Linked DNA regions of Homo sapiens: region 2 is linked to region 1. Evidence: promoter capture Hi-C in 16 types of primary human blood cells and fetal thymus (Javierre and others, 2016). All regions are on one chromosome and are shown on one strand. The core of a region is centred on a gene start or on the middle of the fragment in contact, and the rest is flanking DNA. Distances in the headings are between cores, read along the strand shown.

Evidence for each region. Contacts are between HindIII fragments. The CHiCAGO score rates a contact against its expected background, and 5 or more counts as called.
Region 2: the fragment with the promoter of PRPF19 here is called in contact with a fragment that was not itself captured in region 1 in 4 of 17 cell types (naive CD8 T cells, naive CD4 T cells, total CD8 T cells and 1 more); the score reaches 7.2 in naive CD8 T cells.

What each region holds. Positions count from the first base shown.
Region 1 is chr11:61,422,115-61,426,708 of GRCh38, forward strand. All of the region lies in intron 2 of CPSF7 (cleavage and polyadenylation specific factor 7), which reads right to left. Among named protein-coding and RNA genes, the nearest start is that of CPSF7, 5.6 kb to the right of the region's middle. The HindIII fragment of the contact is 2,618 bases long and covers 1,991-4,594 here.
Region 2 is chr11:60,904,177-60,908,494 of GRCh38, forward strand. PRPF19 (pre-mRNA processing factor 19) reads right to left here and starts at 2,409. Exons shown (of 16, transcript NM_014502.5): 1 at 2,188-2,409. The coding sequence starts at 2,206. It overlaps PRPF19-DT (PRPF19 divergent transcript), which reads left to right and starts at 2,603. Exons shown (of 2, transcript NR_186697.1): 1 at 2,603-2,667. RefSeq lists a silencer at 2,002-2,101 and enhancers at 2,041-2,628, 2,742-2,861. The HindIII fragment of the contact is 4,469 bases long and covers 1-3,766 here.

The DNA of each region.
Region 1 (4,594 bases), core at 2,050-4,549:
GAGTTACTGATTTAAATCCCTTGATTGGTATAAATGATTTAGGAAAGCTCTAAACTCATTGTACACAATCCCATCTTTCCATCGGAGAAAATAAAAAATAAATAAAAGGGAAGGGAATAACAACAGGGGTTTTCCCCTACTAAGTTCTATTTCTTAAATGACATACAGGCCCAATGCATTACCATGACATGTATCTAGGAGACTTTTTTTTTTTTTTGAGACAGGGTCTCACTTTGTCACCCAGGCTGGAGGGCAGTGGTGCAATTACAACTCACTGCAGCTTCAACCTCCTGGGCTCATGTGATCCTCCCACTTCAGTCTCCCAAGTAACTGGGGACTACAGACATGCGCAACCATGCCCAGCTAATTTTCAAATTTTTTTTGTAGAGACAGGGTTTCACCATGTTGCCCAGGCTAGTCTGGAACTCCTGGACTCAAGTGATCCACTGGCCTCGGCCTCCCAAAGTGCCGGGATTACAGGGGTGACTACCATGCCCAGCCAATATTCAATGATATACAAAAAACAGTTAAAGTTCTCTAAAATATAAGGGCCAGAAAACAGGACAAGAACATAAACTGTATCACACAGTAAGCATTTACAATATGAATATGTATTATGGAAAATGTGCAAAATACATATTCTGCCTATGTGATATCTTACTTACTATATACCAAAACCCCTAAAACTACAACTACTACTACTACGATACAGGACCTTAATGTTTAGGATTTTACAGGCTGGGTGCAGTGGCTCACGCCTTGTATCCCAGCACTTTAGGACGCAGAGATAGGCAAACTGCTTGAGCCCAAGAGTTTCAGACCAGCCTGGGCAACATGGTGAAACCCTATCTCTACAATAAATACAAAAATTAGTTGGGCATGGTGGCACACATCTATAGTCCCAGCTACTCGAGAGGCAGAAGGATCACTCGAGCCCGGGAGGTTGAGGTTGCAGTGAGCCAGCCTGGGCAACAGAGTGAGACCCCATATCAAAAAAAAAAAAAAAAAAAAAAAAAGGGTTCAGGATTCTACAATGTAATTACCTCAGAGAAATCTTTTTTTTTTTTTTTTTTTTTGAGACACAGTCTTGCTCCATTGCCCAGGCTGGAGTGCAGTGGCGCCATCTCAGCTCACTGCAACCTCTGCCTCTTGGGTTCAAGTGATTCTCCTGCCTCAGCCTCCTGAGTAGCTGGGATTACAGGCACACACCACCATGCCCAGCTAATTTTTGTATTTTTAGTAGAGATGGGGTTTCACCATGTTGGTCAGGCTGGTCTCAAACCCTTCATCTCGTGATCTGCCCACCTCGGCCTCCCAAAGTGCTAGGATTACAGGCGTGAGCCACCGTGCCTAGCCTCAGAGAAATCTTTTTAAGGATTAGACAAGCATTTTATTTTTATTACAAGAATTAGACAAAACATTCAAACAATGCTAAAGATAATGCTGCCAAAATGACAGAGACAGCAAGTAGTTCAGTGTTTTAAGGATGCTACGGCAGTTTCATATTGCTATTCTTTTAAAAAGGGAATAAAGGAGGCACCTAAGTTGGGAAACTTGTCTAGTACCCTGAAGAAACAGTTTCTCCAAGGCAACTAAAGACAGGCGGCTCCCTTAACTTTCTCCCTCCAATATCACGGCAATAACTGCTAATTCTGAAGTGATCTGAAGACGACTCACTAAAAAATTTACTCTTAGACCAGTCCTTGTATTATAAGAACCTTTGGAAACAATCTTTCAGTTTTTCAGTTTATCTGAAGTACAGTGGAAGAAAATGCACACTAAGAGAATAATCTTGGGTTGTTCTGATAGAGAAGGGGGAAGGATTCTACTTCCTAAAGCATATAAATAATTTCAAATATTAAAACACTCTAAGAAACCCACCAGGAGGGCTTAACCCTTGTAAAAACGTTAGAAAAAGAATATCAAGAGACAGTAAACTTTTAGGGGGCAACTTAACAACAAGAAATTAGTGAGGCAAATAAGCACAGGAAGCTTGTTCCATGTAGTCAAATCCATCAAAAAGGATTGTGCATAAAAAGGGTCAGCATGTAAAGAATGAGGAGAGAAGCTAACACTGGAGAGGACAGGGTGGATAATAAAGTAAGGTGAGGTCAGCTAGGGCTAATGAGTGGGAAAACATTTTGTGTGTAAGTAATCACTATAAAATATTTCATAGCTGTTACGTCTCAAACTATCCCAACTCTATAGACAAATCACTCTTCTATTCATGTACCAGGTATGGTGAGTTGCTCCTGTGGTTCAAGGTAGAGAAAGGATTTATATACATCACTTGATCCCATCCAATGCTCAAATCCTTAGAAAGCACTACTTCACACCAAGATTCTTCTTTTTTTCTGAGATAGAGTCTCACTTTGTCACCCAGGTTGAAGTGCAGTGGCGCAATCTTGGCTCACTGCAACCTCCGCCTCCTGGGTTCAAGTGATTCTCCTGCCTCAGCCTCCCGAGCAGCTGGAATTACAGGTGTGCACCACCACACCCAGCTAATTTTTGTATTTTTAGTAGAGATGGGGTTTCACCATGTTGGCCAGGCTGGTCTCTAACTCCGGACCTCAGGTGATCCTCCCACCTCAGCCTCTCAAAGTGCTGGGATTACAGGCGTAAGCCACTGCACCCAGCCTTCTTTTTTTTTAAATCAAGGATTTTCAAATGACACGTAAACAGAATAAGGAAACACATCATCTTGGATAATCGAATGGAACCAAACTGAGATTCCCTTCCATGCAGTATCTGTAATTCAGGTATATGTGTCTAAAATTTGTAATGTAAAAATGATCACTGAAAATTGAGTAGTGGACTAACATGCAGATTTGGACAGCTCAGAGACCAAATGCATCACCAGGAAACCCTTCGTACTATATGCTTAGGCAACCAATCCACTGTTTTAAGATCCCTTAAGAATAGGATAGACTAGATCCTGGAGAATCTTGGTATGGCTACCACTTTTAGAAACAAAAGGATTGAATGAATACAAAATTATCACAAGATTTAAATGGTCTCTCTGGGCCACAGAGCCTCAGTTCAAAGAAGCTGGTGGGAACTGCACAGGGCAGGTCTGTTGAGGGTTCTACTGAAGAAACAAGGTATCAAATTGTTTGGATTTTAATCCCCCAGCATCACAATTCATTTTACTTGTTCAGCTAGTAAGACAGAAACACAGTTAAGGGCCGGAGATTTTTCTCAGCGGATTTATGCAGTAATAGATTAAAGTAAAATCAAATTCTACAAATTAAGTGAAAAGTACATTTTACATGCACTGATGTTCAAAGTTTCATTCCAGGGAGATTAAACATGAAACATATATTTAATACTGAATAACTATCTCAAAGAATTTTGTGTTTAATGGCACAGAAAGAACTGTGACTGTCTCATGAAACTTCCTGCTTCCCTGTAAACAAAAGAGAACATGTGTGATTTTCAATTTAAATAAGATCTTCTCCACTTGTCTGCTCAGTGTTCCTAACCTCCACCCTCTTCTTCCTCATATCCCACTGAGGGAAGTAACTAGCCTAGGATTTATTTTTCTCAGAGCAACCAACTTGATACCATTGTTTCTTTTAATTGTAACCAAGGCTTAATCAAAAATTTTGGCTTTATAATGACCATTTCCACAGTTCCCACTTCACACCCTCCTTGTCCTTCACTGTACATTGTCGTTGTCCACCACCCCTACCCACCAGGAGTGGAATCTGTTTTGAGTACAGGGACCCACTTTTTTTTCCTTTTACCTCACTAGTCCTGGCACAGTGCTTAGCAAACACAAGTAGCTCAATAAATAAATACTTATTGATGGACATAAGGAAGAGAACTGGACACTGTGCAAAGCCTGTCTCAGTATGAAAAGCCAAAACTCCCAGCAGAGCAACTGATCTCAGTCACCTTTCCAGAGTTCTCCCTGGCCCAAGAGAGCCAATGTGAATCCCAGGACTCCCTGTGTTACAGGAATAAAGTAGCTCTGGCAAAAACAGGCTTTTGCAGCAAATGCTCTAAGAGATCAGGGAATAAGCACCATAGGGTTCCATCTAGGAAAAATATTAATTTTCCTTGAGGAGCAAAGTGCACATGAAGGGCTTCCTGTGCATGGGCCAGCTTGGGGCGAAATCAGTAACATTCTTAAAACATTCTAAAACACAATTTGTACTGGGTGCCTTCAGACTAAGCCAGCTTCTAACAATTCTAGCCAAAGTTTTTTTGTTTTTTTGTTTTTTAAATAATTTCTGTAGCTTCCAGATGACACTAACACTAACTTTGTCAAAAATAACTAATTGATATGTGTGTGGGGGGGAAGCACTCATCCCTCACCTTCCACAAAACATAAGATATTCAAAATTCACACTTTCTTCAGCTTGCCTAGTGTCAAATATTGCCCGTTGGATATATGTATCTATTAAAGTCCACATACTACCTTTAGCCTGTCTTAGACCCATAAAAAAGTCCTTTTTAACTGAGGAGACCAGAGAACAAACTATTGAGGCCAATAACTTATACTCTAACAAAGCAGTGACCACTGGACAATGAGTTCTGCGTATTTCTCAAAGTGAAATGAATGGCACTATTATCAATCCACAGATAAGAA
Region 2 (4,318 bases), core at 1,159-3,658, 520 kb before region 1:
TGAACAATGATTGTGTACTCTATGAATACAGTTTACTCCATGACATGGAGATACACATGAAGCCATTCAAATCCCTGCCATCCATCTTAGTCTATAGCTCCAGACAGATTATCAAAGAAATTATAAAGTCTGAGAATACAGGAATAACAAACTCAGTTTCTCCTATTCTCTGACAAAACAAAATACTTCTGTGACCTCAGATGTGACCATCTGGGTGTCCTCCAATTCAATTCTGACACCAGGTACCTGGAGATAGTGTCAGATCATACAGGTTGAGGTCTCAGTCCCACCAGACTCCCCGCCCCTTCAGATGCCAATCGCAAGCCCCAGGTTGTTTGACCTGTTCTTCTGATCTACCAGCTGTAAATCAGGGTTCCCATGACCTCCTTTTTGGGTTCAATTAATTTGCAACAGTGACTCAAACAATTGTGGGAAACACTTATGTTTACCAGTTTATTGTAAAGGATATTACAAAGGATACAGATGAAGAGGAGCATAGGATGAGGTATGGGAGAAGTACAGAGCTTCCCATGCCTTCCCTGGGCACCCCACCCTCCAGGAACCCCCACATGTTCTGCTATACAGAAGCTCTTTGAATCCTGTCCTTTTGTATTTTTATGAAAACTTCATTACAAAGGCATGATTCAATAAATCACTGGTCACTAGTGACGACTTCAGTTCCTCTCATTTCCCCAGGTAAATGGGGGGTAGGACTGAAAATCCCAACCTTCTAATACCCTTTAGTCTTCCTAGGTGACCAGTCCCCATCCTGAAGCTATTGAGTCTACCAGCTACCAGTCAACTGATTAGCGTACAGACACTTATCACCTGGAAGATTCCAAGGAGCAAAGTGGCAATCGCTACAATAAAAATATTTAAAAATATTTACATGGCACATTTGCATGGCACATTTCTATGTGCCAAGCACAATTCTAGGCATACAGTACAGTAATTCATCTTCACAACAACCCGCAATAGAGGTATCATTTACACTCTTGCCTGCGTAGACTGTGCACCCCTTGAGGATAAGGATTACAGCTGGTCTCTCACTTCCAGTACAATGCAGATGCCCCCAGGGCACTCGGTAAACATCTAACAAATGAGTGAACCATGCCAGGAAGGATGGTGCTGGGGAACGTAAAAGAGAGCTTCCCGAAGATTGGAAGGAAACAATAAATGTGAAGGTACTTTGCGAGCTGTAATTTCTTCAAAGTGAGGGATTCCTTTTCCATCATTTCCCTTCCTTCTTCCCCCTCTTTGGATCAATGTACAGGTTCTGAGAAGAGAAGGAAGTGAATAGCAAAAGGGAGGGGAAACGAGTAATCTGATGAAACAACGAAAAGGGAAAGGAAAATGTCTGTACGTCATGATAAAATATCAAAGGGAAAGATAGTGGAAGGTATGAAAAAAGCATGGATTCAGGGTCCAAGATCCGTGTCACCTAACTACGTCACCCAGCTCTGCCACTGACTAGCTACGCATCCTTAGATAAGCCCCGCTCTTCCTGCGCCTTGCATCCTCATCTGCAAAACCAGGATCTTTATTTCTCCTTTAGGGAATTCTTGTGAGGATAAAATGAGATCATAGACTTGGAAGCGCGTTGTAAACCAATAAGGGCTTATAAATGTGCGCTGTTTTTATTAGTCATACAGTGTAAGGCTGGGAGCCAGATACCTGGCTGCCAGCCTTGCCTCTACCTCTAACTCATCATGTGACCTTTGCAAATTGCAAAAGCTCCGACTATCCGAGCGAGGCCTCGCAAAACATCCACTGCAATGCTCTCGATTTTGCAGATGGGGAAACCGAGGCCCAGAGCCTTGAGCCAATTCATAAAGCCAATGGGAGGCGGACCCTGGACAAGACCTCGAGTTTTCTGACTCCTACATTAAGGCTGCTTCCCTTGCACCAGCTCTCTCTGTCCAGACCTGTTTCCACTCTGTAGAATGAGGCGACCGGCCTCAGTAATGTCTGCGACAATAAACCTCAGGCACTATGTAAACTGCGGGGCACTGCGCAAATGCACCCCGCTCCGACGGGGGGGGCTCCGGTGCTGACAGGCCGCCGCTCGGCCTCCGGAGCGCCCCATTCCCGCCTCCACCCCGGCCCGGGCGCCGCAGCGGACCGCACACGCTCCCGCGCCGCTCTCTGGCCTCCTGAGACCCGCGCTTGGCCGCAGCCAACACTCACTGGAGCAGATTAGGGACATGGCGCCGTCACCGTGCTCCGAGGCGCCACACGCCGGGCTCCGGGACTAGCTTCTGAGCCTCCGCGAGCCACTTCCGGTCCCCCGCTGCTGCCGGGACTGCTCCGCGGCGAGCTGGGAGCCGCCAGCCGAGCGATGCTAGCGTAGCGCTTCACGTGGGAATGGGGACAGCCGCGCGCCACAGCCTTCAGCACCTAACGGAAATTGCCCTTTCCCAGAATGCAGCCGGGCAGGAAAGGGCCCGCCACGAACACTCGGTTATTTCCGGATTGACTCGGCTCGTTCCGTAAAGCGCCGGAGGATTGGCTGGGGCGTCGGGAGAGAGGAGGCTCGAAACTACATTTCCCATGACGCAGTGAGAATTTAAAACCAAAACAATTGGACAGCACTTGTTTTGACAACTGTGCGGCACTGTGCCACGGGACCCTGGTCTTTGAAACCTTGGCGTGCGCGAGAATTTCCCAGTGAGTTTGTTAAAATGCAGATTCCTCGGGTCTGCGTAGACAGACTGTGCCCCACGCTTTTCTAAGTCAGTTGTTTCTCGGGCTACCCTTTAAGAGACACTGCTGGATGGCCTGGTGAAGAAAATACAGAAACAGATGGGTACAAGAACTAAGAAAACGGCTAAGAAAGTGTTTTGGTCCTGACTACTACCATTTCGCTCTGTGATTTGGGGCAATTCACATTGCCCTTTCTTCTTTGTCAAAAGACAAAATCACAACAAACTTAGTTCAAAGATTTTTTTTTTCTTAAGAGACGGACTCTGGCAATGTTGCCCAGGCTGGAAGGCAGTGGCTATTCACAGGTGCGGTCATAGCAATCATGGCTATCACAGGTGCATCCTGGAACTCCTGGCCTCAAGTGATCCTTCTGCCTCAGCCTCCGGAGTAGCTGGGACTTAAGGTGCGATTCTATAGAATTGGGCAGTGCCTCATACTATAAAATATAATGGTTGTTCCAATGAGCTGAACAGGAGAACTTGGTTTTATAGACAGAAAAGGACTGAGGAAAACAGGAACAGAGAACAAAAAGCGGATTGGTCATTTGGTAATTTCAAAATTACTTTTCTTGTAAAGGTTAAAGTGGAGGGGACTTATCATGCCACCTAAAACTTGCCTGTTTGGGAATTTAGCTCCCCCCTACACACACACACACACACACACACACACACACACACATACACACTCAGAAGGTCGTAAAGATCTTCGTTTCAGCTTATTGGCGTGGAGCTTCAGCAGGACTAACTCTTTTTAGCTTGGTCTGTTAGGCCTAGCAGAAGAGCTCAGTCCAAACCAATGGCCTCCTATAAATTTCTTTATTTTGTATTTTGGATTTTGTATTTTCTATTTCTCTTCCAGCTCAGATAGTGTATGATTCTTTGTGGATATCTGTAAGATAAGATACTCTCAGGAATCATGCAAAAGACGTGGTGTGGACTGTAAGGTATCAAGACAAAAGGGCAGGATGAACAGGATGTGAGTGAGAGGGACTTTGACAGGTGGGCAGTATTCAGAGGAGAAGGAGAACGAAAGGCATTCCGGAAGAAGAAACAACGTAAGCAAAAGCTTGGAGAGAAAAATAAAAGTTACAGGTACAAAAGGCAATATGGCATAGTGGCCAAGAGCATGGACTCTGAAGTCAGACTGTGTGCTCAAATCCTAGCACCACTCAGGTGATTGGCAGTATGAACTTCTCTATGCCTTAGTTTCCTCATCTGTAAAACAGAGGGAGTGATGACAAGGGTAGAACTAACTCACTGAACTCTTATGAAGAGTTAATATGCAAAAGGGCATCTCATCTCTGTCTTGCACCAACAAAGTAACTTCCCACTTGTTCCTTGCTTCCAGCCTGGCCTCCTCCTCCTAATCTACTTTCCACAGAGCAGACAGTGATCCACTTTGAACGAAATATCTATTCATGTTATTCCCCAGGCATTTCATTCATCCAACAAATATTGATTGGGTGCTTCCTATGTGCCAAGCCCTATTGTAAAAACTGGAGATAGAAAAGGTCAACAAGAAAGACACAGTTTCTGCTGTCTTGGAGCTTACACTCTACTGTGGGTGGTGGGAGCACAGAGACAATCAACACTTAAGAAGAAAATTCCAGAGTAGT